4 separate regions of the Homo sapiens genome follow, and regions 1, 3 and 4 are each linked to region 2. The links are contacts of gene promoters, found by promoter capture Hi-C in human tissues and cell types (Jung and others, 2019). All regions are on one chromosome and are shown on one strand. Each heading gives the region's core, a stretch centred on a gene start or on the middle of the fragment in contact. The rest is flanking DNA. Distances are from core to core; before and after follow the strand shown. Region 1 has its middle 4.2 kb from the start of ZNF48. Region 2 holds the start of ZNF768 (zinc finger protein 768). Region 3 overlaps FBRS (fibrosin). Region 4 overlaps TBC1D10B (TBC1 domain family member 10B).

Evidence for each region. Contacts are between HindIII fragments. The study calls those that stand out against the background at their distance.
Region 1: a contact is called between a fragment that was not itself captured here and the fragment with the promoter of ZNF768 in region 2, in 1 of the 25 tissues and cell types used here (dorsolateral prefrontal cortex).
Region 3: a contact is called between a fragment that was not itself captured here and the fragment with the promoter of ZNF768 in region 2, in 2 of the 25 tissues and cell types used here (adrenal gland and mesenchymal stem cells).
Region 4: a contact is called between a fragment that was not itself captured here and the fragment with the promoter of ZNF768 in region 2, in 2 of the 25 tissues and cell types used here (bladder and mesenchymal stem cells).

What each region holds. Positions count from the first base shown.
Region 1 is chr16:30,389,491-30,392,956 of GRCh38, forward strand. It overlaps a transcript of ZNF48 not described here. Among named protein-coding and RNA genes, the nearest start is that of ZNF48, 4.2 kb to the right of the region's middle. The HindIII fragment of the contact is 2,143 bases long and covers 289-2,431 here.
Region 2 is chr16:30,524,982-30,528,166 of GRCh38, forward strand. ZNF768 (zinc finger protein 768) reads right to left here and starts at 1,585. Exons shown (of 2, transcript NM_024671.4): 1 at 1,345-1,585; 2 at 1-1,070. The coding sequence starts at 1,432. RefSeq lists enhancers at 1,031-1,090, 2,671-2,970 and silencers at 1,291-1,340, 1,361-1,680, 1,771-2,600. The HindIII fragment of the contact is 23,531 bases long and covers 1-3,185 here.
Region 3 is chr16:30,668,509-30,671,940 of GRCh38, forward strand. It overlaps FBRS (fibrosin), which reads left to right. Exons shown (of 18, transcript NM_001105079.3): 16 at 52-135; 17 at 264-471; 18 at 561-2,302. The coding sequence ends at 1,137. Among named protein-coding and RNA genes, the nearest start is that of FBRS, 12 kb to the left of the region's middle. RefSeq lists a silencer at 1,728-1,921. The HindIII fragment of the contact is 4,874 bases long and covers 1-3,432 here.
Region 4 is chr16:30,362,936-30,366,527 of GRCh38, forward strand. TBC1D10B (TBC1 domain family member 10B) reads right to left here. Exons shown (of 9, transcript NM_015527.4): 2 at 2,560-2,659; 3 at 2,170-2,277; 4 at 1,965-2,071. Among named protein-coding and RNA genes, the nearest start is that of TBC1D10B, 5.8 kb to the right of the region's middle. The HindIII fragment of the contact is 4,833 bases long and covers 1-3,592 here.

The sequences.
Region 1 (3,466 bases), core at 110-2,609, 140 kb before region 2:
TGAACCTGGGAGGCAGAGGTTGTGGTGAGCCGAGATCGTGCCACTGCACTCCAGCCTGGGCAACAGAGTGAGACTCTGTCTCAAAAAAAAAAAAAAAAAGGCTCTTGCTTGGTCATTGTGTTAAATGTAGAGTTTATATGAATTAACAGTGACACCATAGTCCATTTCCATGCTTATTAATTCCAACTAATTATGGCGAATCATTCATATGATATTTGGGGCTTGTTTGCTTTGACAAAGGAAGGCAGTACCTTGAGTTTCATATAGGGCAGTGTGTGGTGGACAGCTCTCTTCCCATTTAGTAATTATTTAGTCATTTGGATTAGTTTTTTTTTTTTTTTTTTTTTTTTTTTTTTTTTTTTTAGAAACAGGGTCTTGTTCTGTTGCCCAGGCTGGAATGTAGTAGTGCGATCATAGGTTATTGCAGTCTTGAACACCTGGGCTCACTTCTGCCTCCCAAGTAGCTGGGACTATAGCTTTGCAACACCATCCCTGGCTAATTCTTTTTTCTTTTTAGAGATGGGGTCACTATGTTGGCCAGGCTGGTCCCAAACTCCTGACCTCAAATGATTCTCCTGCCTTGGCCTCCCAAAGCACTAGGATTCCAGGTGTAAGCCACTATGCCCAGCCCGTATTAGTTCTTCTTCATCTTGCCATCATGTCTTCACAGTTACCTCTTCCCCACCCCTTGCATCCCTTGAGGGACTTCTATATCTTTAGACATTAATTCAAGTTCAGATCTAATAACTATAGGATTTGTCCTCTCAAAGTCAGAGTTAGGCAGCTCTGCAAATGAATATGGCAGGCATGCTGACCATTTATACCCTCTTCTATTTCCCAGCACAAATGCCCAGTACCTGATGGATACCCAGGAAATGTTTGTGGAACAAATGAATAAACTTACATTCTTTTTTATTTTTATTTATTTATTTTTTTTGAGTCGGAGTCTCGCTCTGTCGCCCAGGATGGAGTGCAGTGGTGCGATCTGGGCTCACTGCAACATCCCCTCCCGGGTTCACGTGATTCTCCTGCCTCAGCCTCCCGAGTAGCTGGGGCTACAGGCACCTGCCACCACGCCCAGCTAATTTTTTGTATTTTTAGTAGAGACGGGTTTTTTTTTTTTTTTTTTTTTTTTTTTTTTTTTTTTTTGAGATGGAGTTTTCTCTGTCGCCCAGGCTGGAGTGCAGTGGTGTGATCTCGGCTCACTGCAAGCTCCGCCTCCTGGGTTCATGCCATTATCCTGCCTCAGCCTCCTGAGTAGCTGGGACTACAGGCGCCCGCCATCACGCCTGGCTAATTTTTTTTTTATATTTTTAGTAGAGACGGGGTTTCACCGTGTTAGCCAGGATGCTCTCGATCTCCTGACCTCGTGATCTGCCCACCTCAGCCTCCCAAAGTGCTGGGATTACAGGCGTGAGCCACCGCGCCTGGCCAGAGACAGGGTTTCAATGTGTTAGCCAGGATGGTCTCGATCTCCTGACCTCGTGATCTGCCCACCTTGACCTCCCAAAGTGCTGGGATTAGAGGCGTGAGCCACTGCGCCCGGCCGAATAAACTTACATTCTATCTTCATCTTTCACTGCTTTCCTAATATGTAAACTCACGGCACATTAAAACGGAACTATTCTCTATTTTCCTCTCTGAAGATAGGTCGTAATCCATAGTCATCTTTGGATCTCAAGCTTCTAGCACACATTAGGTTTTCTTTTATTTTTATTTTTTGAGACGGAGTCTCACTCTGTCGCCCAGGCTGGAGTGCAGTGATCTCTGCTCACTGAAACCTCTGCCTCCCGGGTTCAAATGATTCTCCTGCCTCAGCCTCCTGAGTAGCTGGGATTACAGGTGAGCACCACCACCTCCAGCTAATTTTTTTATTTTTAGTAGAGACAGGTTTTCACCATGTTGGTCAGGCTGGTCTCCAACCCCTGACCTCATGATCCGCCCGCCTCAGCCTACCAAAGTGCTGGGATTACAGGCGTGAGCCACTGCTCCTGGCAGTCTTTTTCTTTTCTTTTTTTTTTTTTAAACAGAGTTTTGTTCTGTTGCCCAGAACGGAATGCAGTGGTGTGATCTCAGCTCACTGCAACCTCCGGCTCGCGAGTTCAAGCGATTCTCCTGCCTCCGCCTCCCGAGTAGCTGGGATTACAGGCGCGTACCACCACATCTGGCTAATTTTTGTATTTTTTAGTAGAGATGGGGTTTCACCATGTTGGCCAAACTGGTCTCGAACTCCTGACCTCAGGTGATTCACCTGCCTCAGCCTCCCAAAGTGTGGGGATTATAGGCGTGAGCCACTGATTCCAGCCTAAGGTTTTCTTTCTCTTTCCTTTTCTTTCTCCTTTTTTTTTGGCGGGGGGGTGGGGGTGGGATAGGGTCTTGCTCTGTCACCCAGGCTGGAGTGCAGTGGCATGATCTCAGCTCCCTGCAACTTTCACCTCCCGCGCCCAAGAGATCCTCTCACCTCAGCCTCCCAAGTAGCTGGGACTACAGGTGTGCACCACCACTCCCAGCTAACTTTTTTGTATCTTTTTATTTATTTTATTTTTTCCTGAGGCGGCGTATCGCTCTGTCGCCCAGGCTGGAGCGCAGTGGCGCGATCTCGGCTAACTGGAAGCTCCGCCTCCCAGGTTCACGCCATTCTCCTGCTTCAGCCTCCTGAGTATCTGGGACTACAGGCGCCTGCCACCACGCCCATCTAATTTTTTTGTATTTTTAGTAGAGACGGGGTTTCACTGTGTTAGCCAGGATGGTCTCAATCTTCTGACCTCGTGATCCACCCACATCGGCATCCCAAAGTGCTGGGATTACAGGAGTGAGCCACCGCCCCCGGCCCTGTATCTTTTTAGAGATGGGTTTTCACCATGTTGGCCAGGCTGGTCTCAAACTGCTGGACTCAAGAGACCTGCCCACCTCAGCCTCCCGAGGTGTTGGGATTACAGGCGTGAGCCACCATGCCTGGCCCATATTAGGTTTTCAATTAGTATGTGGCCCACTGTTTATTCAGCCCCCACTGCCTGGAGTTGTTCATTCAGCCCCCACTCCAGGCAGAGTCTGGACTTTGCCGAAATCAAACCAATTAGAGTAATAGCTGATACTTTTGCTAAGTGCTTTACACATATTCATCCTCAACCATCAAAGTTAGCTGTTATCATCCCTATTTTACAGTTTGGGAAACAGAAGCTTAAGTAACTTCCCTAAAGTCAAGTAGCAATTAAGTGACAAAGGCCAAGAACCACACTCTGCATAAATGGCTTTAAAGACAGTATCTGCACCCACTGAACACTACAGAAGGTATCTCTGTGCGCTACACTCCTATAAAATTTTGTCCATACAGTCAATATAGAACCTGTCACACCATCTGACAACTCCATATCCTATTGGGCCAAGAGCTCCCTGAAGAGTTTCTTTATTTCCAGGGCCTAGGACAGTGTTTAGGTATTAGCTAGTGATCAATAGGTATGTGTTG
Region 2 (3,185 bases), core at 335-2,834:
CGAGTTCTGGCTATAGCACTTGCCGCACTCGGTGCAGCTGTAGGGCCGCTCGTGGCTGTGGGTGCGCTGGTGTCGCAGGAGGTAGGAGCTGTCGCCGAAGGCCTTGCCACAATGTGGGCACTTGTAGGGCTTCTGGCCAGAGTGAGTGCGCTGGTGGCGAAGCAGGTAAGAGCTGTCGGCGAAGGCCTTGCCGCAACGGGGACATTTGTAGGGCCGCTCGCCAGTGTGGGTGCGCTGGTGTTTGATGAGGTCAGAGCTCTGGGAGAAGGCCTTGCTGCAGACCTCACATTTGTAGGGCTTCTCACCGGTGTGGATGCGCTGGTGCTGGATCAGGGTGGAGCCCCGCCCGAAGCTCTTCCCGCAGATGCCACAGATGTTAGGCCGAGGGCCCTGCCCACCCCTGGCCCGGCCACCCCGCCGACCTGGACCTCGAAGGGCTCCTGTGAGACCCAGGGGATTCTGAAGCATCTCAAACTGCGGTGTAGACAGCAGGGCCCCTGTGGGCATCTCAAAAGGTGGCCCTATGGGCAGGTCCCCTGTGGGCTGCTCCCCAAACCCCTGAGTGAAGGAGTCCAGGGGGTGAACTCCTACGGAGATATTCAAAGGACTCTTTTCCTCGGGGTTCAGAAGCATCTCCGCACCTTCCTGGAATTTGGAACTTTGAGCTTCAAATTCTGGGCTTTGGGTTTTGAGCTCAGTGTTCTGGGATTCATATCTAGAGCTCTCAGATTCATAGCCAGGGCTCCGGGGTTCATACCCGGGGCTCCGAGGTTCATAGCCAGGGCTTTGGGGTTCATACCTAGGGCTCTGGGATTCAAACTCAGGGCTCTGAGAATCTGATTCAGGGCTTCTGGGTGCAAACTCAGGGCTTGGGGGCACAAGCCCAGGGCTTCGGGACTCAAACCCCGGGCTTTCAGGCTCAAATCTGGGGCTTTGGGGTTCAAACTCTGGGCTTTGTGGCTCAAACCCAGGGCTCTGGGGTTCAAGCCCAAATGGTATCTCTTCGACTTCATAGTCCCCACTGCCTTCTTGCTGAGAAATTTCCTCTTCCTCATTCTCACTCATGTTGCCTGCAGGATGAGAGAATCCAGATCGTGTGAGACCTGGAAGGTCATTTGGTCCATTAGCAACCACACACCTCCCACCTCACATGCAGGGTCGCTGGCCCCTAGACAAGTGCTGAAATTCCCACGCCCCCCTCAGCTGACCCAAGACACCCCAGTCCCCGCCGGCCCCTCCTTCGAGTCCCAGGTGTCCCAGCCCCGGGCCCTCGCTCCCTCCCTGGAGCCACAGCCCCTTCTCCTGCGCGCAAGTCCACTCCTCGGACGGGCGCTCCCTCCTCACCTCTGAGGTACCCTTCGGGGCTCCTCATTTCGTCAGAACTCTGCACATCCTGGGGCTCGAGGCCCCACGGCAACGCCTCCCGCTCCATCCCCGCGGGCTCCCAGTGCAGCGGCGGCGGCGATGGCGGCCGATCCCGCGACCCGGCCTCGGTTGCCCCGAGCCGCGGGCCCCCGCCTCCCGCCCGCTCAGCGCCGCCCAGGGGACTCGGCGGCCCAGCCCGGGCCCCCGAGGCCGGACGTCTTGACCCCGCGCCTCTCCAGCGCGCCGGGCCCCTCCCCTGCCCGCGGCCCCGCCCCCTCCCAAGGTCTCGGCCTCCCCGTGGCCCTCACTGGCCCCCGCGCGTCGCGGCCTCGGGGATGAGGGGCTTCGCGACTACCCCGGCGGCCCCCGGCCCCCGCTCCCGCCCGAGCCCCCACCTTCTGGACCCCGGCCCCGGGCTGGGCTGCACTGTCCAACGGCCGCCCAGCACCCCCCCACCCTCCCCCGCACAGGAAGTGTCCGTCCGCGGCCAGGTCCCCCCGCCGGCTCGCGCCGCGGCCTCTCTAGGAGCCGCTGGAGGTGGAAACTCGTTGGCATTAACCCTGGGCTGGAGGGGCCCGGCCACGGGGTGGGTGAGGACCGGACGCCCCGGAGCCCGCGGGGCTACCGGGGCAGTGTGTGTGCCTATGTTCTAGGTCTCCGTCCCTCCAGAGGCCCGTCTGTCCATCTCCCGGGCCCCGCGTCGTCGGTGCGTGTGGCCAAGGGCGAGGCGACAAGCGAGACCAAGGTCAGCGAGAAGGAGCGACGCTTCCCGGCGCCAGCGGGGGCGGTGTCTCGCTCCCTCCCCTCCCGGGCCTCCGGGTCAGCTCCGGCAGCGCCTCGGGAACCGGGACGGACTCCCCTTGGCCTCGCCGAGGTCCTTGAGCCTGGGACCCCCTCCAGGAACTCCGCTCCCCGGCACCTGCGCGCGCCCGCTCCCGTTCCTCCGGCCCCCACCCAGCTCGGCTCCCCTGATCCTCCTCCTCCCTCCTCCCTCCTCGAGGGCTAGGATAGTTGCCAAGGAGACAGCCCCGCCCCGGCTCCCAGAGGCACAGCTTCTCCGCCCCAGGAAGCCCGGCGGTTGGCCGATGGGGCTCGTGCTCTAGCCGCCCCGCCTCCTCCAACCCCGCGGACGGCTGGGCGTTAATGGTCGCCAGGGAACGCCAGGCGCCTTCCTGATTGGCCGGGAGTGCTGTGGTCGGGTCCGCCTCCCCTGTCGGCCAGAAGCGCCTTCAGGAGGTAGTGGGAGGGAGGTGCCAGGCATCTCCCCTCCAGCCCGGCCTGTGCCATCAAAACTTTTCCCGCCCCCACTTAGCCTCCATTATGTTTTATGAAAGCCAGAAGATCTGAGGACAGACACCCTTCCTCCTCGTCAGCCTCACACCCCTTGCCTCTCCCCTCCACCTTCCCCAGCGCCTGAGTTTAACTCAATCCCTGGCAGCCTTAGTCCCTGTTGTTAGATTTCCTCACAGGGAGGCAGGATTCCTTCCAGGTGAGGGTGATACAAAGGAGAATTGGACTGAGAGAACCATCTGGCCTTCGAGGCATCTAACAACTCTCCAGTCTTGTCTGACTCGAATGGAGTCTTGCAGAGGAAGGGAACCTGAGAAACACTGCCTCGGGCGCAGCTTTGAATTGAGGAAGTGAGCCTGGACAGACAACTTAATATCATCCAGTTCTTGTCTTTTTTTTCTACGCTTCGTGCTGAAACAAGTTTGGCAGCGTTCTTGACAGTTAACGAGCCCGATGCCCCTGTGTGAGCAGGAGCCATGGATCGTGTTTTCTTGTCGCCTACCCAGACAAATGAAGGGAAGAGAATGTTT
Region 3 (3,432 bases), core at 637-3,136, 140 kb after region 2:
TGCTCAGCACCGGCTGCCCAGTGCTCTGACCACCCCCCTTTCCTCCCACAGATCCCTTTGGGCGTCCCACAAGCTTCGCCTCTTTGGCTGCCCTCTCCAACGGGGCCTTTGGAGGCCTGGGCAGCCCCACATTCAGTGAGTGCGGGTGCGGTGGGGTGGGGGGGCTGCGGCCACAGGGTGAGAGCTCAGACGGTCTGGGAGGAGGCCTGAACAGGGCCTCCCACTTCTGGCCCCTGTCACTCTCTGCTTCACCCTCTGCCCAGACTCCGGCGCCGTCTTTGCCCAGAAAGAAAGCCCAGGGGCCCCACCAGCCTTCGCCTCCCCACCGGACCCATGGGGCCGCCTGCACCGCAGTCCTCTGACCTTTCCTGCCTGGGTCCGGCCCCCTGAGGCCGCCCGGACTCCAGGCTCAGACAAGGAGCGGCCTGTGGAGCGGAGGGAGCCCTCCATCACCAAGGAGGAGAAGGACAGGTGTGCCTCCCACCCACCCTGCCCCTGCCCCACCCTCAGCCCCTGCTGCCCCTGGAGAACTTCATTCTCTCCCCACGCCTGCCCTCCAGGGACCTCCCCTTCTCACGGCCCCAGCTCCGAGTTTCTCCTGCTACTCCCAAGGCCCGGGCTGGTGAGGAGGGGCCTCGGCCAACCAAGGAATCTGTGCGGGTAAAGGAAGAGCGGAAGGAGGAGGCTGCCGCCGCCGCTGCCGCTGCTGCTGCCGCCGCCGCTGCCGCCGCCGCAGCAGCCACTGGGCCCCAGGGCCTTCACCTGCTGTTTGAGAGGCCCCGGCCGCCCCCGTTTCTGGGCCCTAGCCCACCAGATCGCTGTGCTGGCTTCCTGGAGCCAACCTGGTTGGCAGCACCCCCACGCCTGGCAAGGCCACCCCGCTTCTATGAGGCGGGTGAGGAGCTAACTGGACCCGGGGCCGTGGCCGCTGCCCGCCTCTACGGTCTGGAACCTGCTCACCCCTTGCTCTACAGCCGCTTGGCTCCTCCACCACCACCTGCTGCGGCCCCGGGAACCCCTCACCTTCTCAGCAAGACCCCACCGGGAGCCCTTTTGGGGGCACCACCTCCGCTTGTGCCCGCCCCCCGGCCCAGTTCCCCACCTAGGGGCCCTGGCCCAGCTCGGGCTGACAGGTGAGGGGAACGGGGGGGGGTCGGGGCAAAGCTCCATCTCCCCTTCCTTTAACCAGGTCCTAGGGCTGAGGTTTTAAGCCAGGGCTGGAGGGCAAAGGTCATAACCTCACCAGCCACCTCTGAGGTCATGGAACCTGGGAACAGAAGCCTCAACCCCCACAAGACCAAGCATCACATGGAGTGTAGGGTCACTGGGAGAGCAGAGGTCACAGCCTCTAGAGAAGGGAGAGGGGCGTGTGCATGGGAGTGTGGCTCATCTCGGGGGCCATGGGGCCTCCTGAGGTACACCTTTGCCCCTGTAAGGGCCTCTAGGCCCTGGGCCTGCCTCCCCAAGGGCTCACTAAGCCAGAGGCCAAAGTGCCCCCTCCCGTTCACCTACCACCCAAGTCCTCATGCCCTCCGAGGGCTGGGGGAGGAGGGGCTCAAGGAAGGGGGGTTCCATGTACATATTTATCACCCCTTTCACATAGCCCCAAGACCTTTTGTACATTTTTACAGGGGTGCCCCTCCCAACAGTTCCCTTCCTGGTTAATTAAACCCTCAGACTGGTGCTGTGTTCCTAGCCTCTGGCCTCTCTGTGGGGAAAGGGGACTGCAGGGGGAAGAGCCGGGAAGGGACAGTCAGGCTTCTCCCTGGGAAGGTGGGGCCAGCAGGAGATGACCAACAGGGGGCAGGACCTGGGGACCTGGGCTGGAGGGAAGGGCAGAAGCTTCCTACTTGGCTGACAGCCCCGGTTCCCCCAACATGTTCCCGTTCACTCTGCCCCCACCCCCAAAGGCTCAGCCTCTAAATCTCAGACTCCACCACCTCTTAATGGCTCAGTCCCCTTCACCCCATTTCCAAGTGCCCCCAGGACTCCTGGGCCCTGCTTCCCTGAACCCTGTTCTCCAAAACCCTGCCCCAGGCTAAGGGTGGCCAGAGAAGGTCACCATGTACCACACACCAAAGAAGGGGGTCGGCCCAGGGGTGGGCGACACAGGCAGCTTCTTCGGCAGCCTCACGGCAGCAACCCCAGCCTTCCCAAAGCAGCAGGCGCCTCCAGGCTGGGGCCCAACCTAGAAGGCAGGGGTCAATCTAACAAAACCCTAACGTTGACTTTTTTCCCTGGTGGGGCTTCTTCTGTAACATGACTTGCGAATATTTATATAAAAACGAGTGTTACAATGAGACCCCCGGCTCCTCTTTGAGTGTGTGTGGGGTGGGTTGGACCAGGGTGGGGTGTGTGGGTCCTGGGGTAAGGGAGGGATGAGGACAGTACTGTCCGTATCCCGCCAAGGTTTTCCTCCCTGCCATCCACTGGGCAAGTTGGTCTGCCATTTCTGGAGGGATGGGTTCGAGGGTTGGGCACTGAAGTTTTTCACACTGTTTTTCTATAATCCAGGAATACATAGTATGTAGGATTCAAGCAACCCAGTAAGACACTGAGCAAAACATTAAATTTCTCCTTCACCTGCCAACCTTCCCAAGCCCCATCCCCTTCCCCCAGGTAACCGCTGTAAATCATTAGGTGTATATTCTTCAGGTCCTTTCTATGTGTTCTCGCACATGTCTGCACAGGCAGAGTATGTTTAAAAAGATCTGTAATTTAAAATTTTTCTGGTTTTTGTGGAGTAATACATAGTCATTATAAAACCATTCAAACACACAAATACAGAACACGGAGGGAAAGTGCTCCATCATCCCACCTCTTGAGGATAACCAGTTTTTTGCTTTGTTTTGTTTTGTTTTGTTTTTTTGAGACGGAGTTTCGCTCTTGTTGCCCAAGCTGGAGTGCAATGGCACGATCTCGGCTCACCGCAACCTCTGTCTCCCGGGTTCAAGCGATTCTCCTGCCTCAGCCTCCCGAGTAGCTGGGATTACAGGCATGCGCCACCACGCCTGGCTAATTTTGTTTTTTTTTTTTTTTTTTTTTTTAATAGAGATGGGGTTTCTCTATGTTGGTCGGGCTGGTCTCTAACTCCCAACCTCAGGTGATCTGCCTGCCTTGGCCTCACAAAGTGCTGGGATTACAGGCGTGAGCCACCGCACCTGGCAACCACTGTTAATTTTCGGGGAAATTCCTCCAGTTATTTTTCTAGCTACTACAGGTCACTGCAACAAAGCGAGGCACATGAATTTTTTCATTTCCTGGTGCATATAAATGTTATGGTTCTGGCTGGGCATGGTGGCTCACGCCTGTAATCCCAGCACTTTGGGAGGTTGAGGCAGATGGATCACGAGGTCAGGAGATTGTAGACCATCCTGGCCAACATGGTGAAACCCTGTCTCCACTAAAAATACAAAAATTAGCCAAGCATGA
Region 4 (3,592 bases), core at 565-3,064, 160 kb before region 2:
CTGAGGCAGGAGAATTGCTTGAACCTGGGAGGTGGAGGTTGCAGTGACCCGAGGTGGCGCCACTGCATTCCAGCCTGGGCGACAGAGCGAGACTCCGTCTCAAAAAACAAAAATAAAAAATAAACGTTCCAAAACTGAGCTCCTGATATGCCCCCCACAGCTACCTTTACCCCATCTGTATTAGTAAACAGCAACTCCATTCTTCTCATTTCTCAGGCCAAAAACCCTACTCCCCTCTCTCCTCTCACACTGCATGTCTAATCCATTGGCAAATCCCTTTGACTCGACCTTCAAAATATATCCAGAATCCAACCACTTCTCCCCATACTCCCGCTGCTACCATGCTGGTCTAGCTCTCACCCTCTCCTGGATTACAGGAAGTCTCCTAACTGGTCCGTTTCTGTCCTTGTCTCCCTATAGTCTGTTCTCAGCATGGTAGCCAGAATGACCCTTTTAAAACATAAGCAGGATCAAGTCATTTGTAACCCCATCCCCACTCACATTCTCTATTTCCCTCTTGCTTTAAACTCCTCTTTAGGCCCAGGCACAGTGGCTCACGCCTGTAATCCCAGCACTTAAGGAGGCTAAGGCAGGCGGATCGCTTGAGCCCAGGAGTTCAAGACCAGCCGGGGCAACATGATGAAAACCCATCTCTATCAAAAAACAAATAAAAGTAAAAATAAAAATAACCTCCTCCTTAATGCTTACCATCATTTCACATACAATATACTTTCCTTTCCCTGATTTATTGTTTGTCCCCACTAAAATATAAACACCATGAGAGGAGTTTTTGGTTTTTTGTTCACTGCAATCATTTGTGACTAGACAGTGCCTGGTAGATAGCAGATGCTCAATAAATATTTGCTAAAGGATGAATTATTGATTTAAAAAATTGTCCGGCTGACCGTGTTGGCTCACGCCTATAACGCTAGCACTTTGGGAGGCCAAGGCAGGTGAATCACCTAAGGTCAGGAGTTCGAGACCAGCCTGGCTAACATGGTGAAACCCCCGTCTCTACTAAAAATACAAAAATTAGCCGGGTGTGGTGGCGCGCACCTGTAATGCCAGCTACTTGGGAGACTGAGGCAGGAGAATCACCTGAATCCAGGAGGCAGAGGTTGCAGTGAGCCAAGATCGTGCCACTGTACTCCTGCCTCGGCAACAAGAGCAAAACTCCATCTCAAAAAAAAAAAAAAAGAAAAGAAAGAACAAAAAGTCCATCTGGCCAGGCGCAGTGGCTCACACCTGTAATCCCAGCATTTTGGGAGGTCAAGGCGGGCAGATCACTTGAGGTTGGGAGTTCAAGACCAGTCTGGCCAACACAGTGAAACCCCGTCTCTGCTAAAAACACAAAAATGAGCTGGGCACGATGGTGTGCACCTATAATCCCAGCTACTCAGGAGGCTGAGGCATGAGAATTGCTTGTACCTGGGAGGCAGAGGTTGCAGTGGGCTGAGATCACACCACTGCACTCCAGCCTGGGCAACAAAGGGAGACTCCATCTCAAAAAACAAAACAAAAAAAAGTCCATCAGAGAACTCCCTAAGATGATCATCTTGCATACTACTAGAGAAGAGTATATACTGACATCTGGAGGAAGCTTGGTCTATAGAACAAAATTCCAAATGCTTTGGCATAGCATTTAAGGGTCCCTGGTGATCTTTTCCATAACCCCCAGGCAGGAAAACCCTGCCCCACTGCTGTAGCTCCCACCCCTCCAAAACCCAGCCCAAATGCAAGCTCTTCAAGGAGCCCATGACGTGCCCCCACACACAACCTGAGTCAAGTCTCCTTCCCAGGACAGTTCCTTTGACATGGCTTGACACTTAGTCCATTACAGATAGCTCTTCTACAAGTCCTGAAGGGCAAAAACCACTTTCGACTCAGTCTTGTATCCACCTAGCTAAAAGGTGGATCCTCCAGCCAATGTTTGCTGACTGACCCCCATGGTCCGGCCACCTTACCCATGCCCCCCTCGAGCAGCAAACATCTCGTGGAAAGGGAACTGGCGGTGCAGGTCCTTCTCAATCACATCCAGCCACTTGGGGTCCCCAGGAGCCCGTTCCAGCTCCTGCAGTGGGACAGTGGGGATTACCTCAGCATCTGGGGGAACTGATACCCCTTGCACAGACAGGGCCACATGTCCCCACACCTTGGAGCTGCACGCACCTCAAACTTTCCTGGGTTCTGCTCCAGAAGTTCCTTGCTATTAGACAGGTACTGCCAGGCTTTGGCTCTGAGAGAGGAGGGGATCCCCTTCCGGCAGCGCAGCTTCACCTAAGGCAAAGTGGCAGGAGGGGGACAGCTTCAAGGGCTGGCACAGCCTCCAACCTTTCCCCAGCAGTCCACAAACTCCCTGGATACTCCTCCGACATCCCATAGGCTTGATTCCACTGGACCTGGCCTGGACTTCTATTTTTAAAGCCATTCCCCCGCCAGGGCCCATCTATCCCCAGTGTGGTCCAGAGGGCAGATATTATCGGCTTCCTGGGCTTCCCTGGAGCACATGCTACCCCTCCCAACTTGTGCATTGCCCTGCCCACCATTCAGCCCTCAAACCTTCTGGAATCGCCGTGACAGCCACTTATCCCAGTTACTGAACATGTCCAGCCATTTGAGCTCCCGCTGCCGAGCCACGTCCACGGGAATGGAGCTCTCTCTGCAGGGTCGGGGGAGCACGGAAGGGGTCAGTAGCAATAGTGTAAAACCTGCATTGCAGGGGGAACTGAGGCAAGCCACCTCCCCAAGCTCAAACGAGAAACTGGATAGTCTGTGAGCTGCCAAACATCAGGATGTCTGGCCACTTGGGCATCCCAAGGCACACTGAAAGGGCTTCCTTCCCTGATGGATCTCTATTCAGAGGTCATATTTAAATCTCACTTCTGACACATCCAAATCTGGGGAGAGAGTATGGAGTATTTTAAAGCCACATTTTGCATTAGATCTGGATCCACGTCCTAGCTTTACCATTTATTCATTGTGTGACCTTGGGCAAATCACTTAATTTTGCTAAGCCCAATTTCCTCATCTGTAAGGTGGAGAAAGTAACAATATCTACCCGAAGGGGTTTATACGAAATAACACACAGCGAAGTGCCCATTAAGTAATACCTTACTATCCATAAAATAAAATACCCTAGAGGGCCAGGCATGGTAGCTCATGCCTGTAATCCCAGCACTTTGGGAAGCAGAGGCAAGAGGATCACTTGAGGCCAGGAGTTCAAGGCCAGCCTGGGCAACATAACGAGATTCTGTCTCTACAAAAAATAAAAATAAAATAATAAAATAGGCCGGGCATGGTGGCTCCCACCTGTAATCCCAGCACTTTGGGAGGCCGAGGCAGGCGGATGACTTGAGGTCAGGAGTTTGAGACCAGCCTGGACAACATGGTAAAACCCTGTCTCTACTATAAATACAAAAATTAGCCAGGCATGGTGGCACGTGCTTGAAATCCCAGCTATTCGCGAAGCTGAGGCATGAGAATCGCTTGAACCCGGGAGGCGGAGGGTGCAGTGAGTCAAGATTGTGCCACTGCACTCCAGCCCAGATGACAGAGCGAGACTCCATCAAAAAAAAAAATAATAATAATAAAA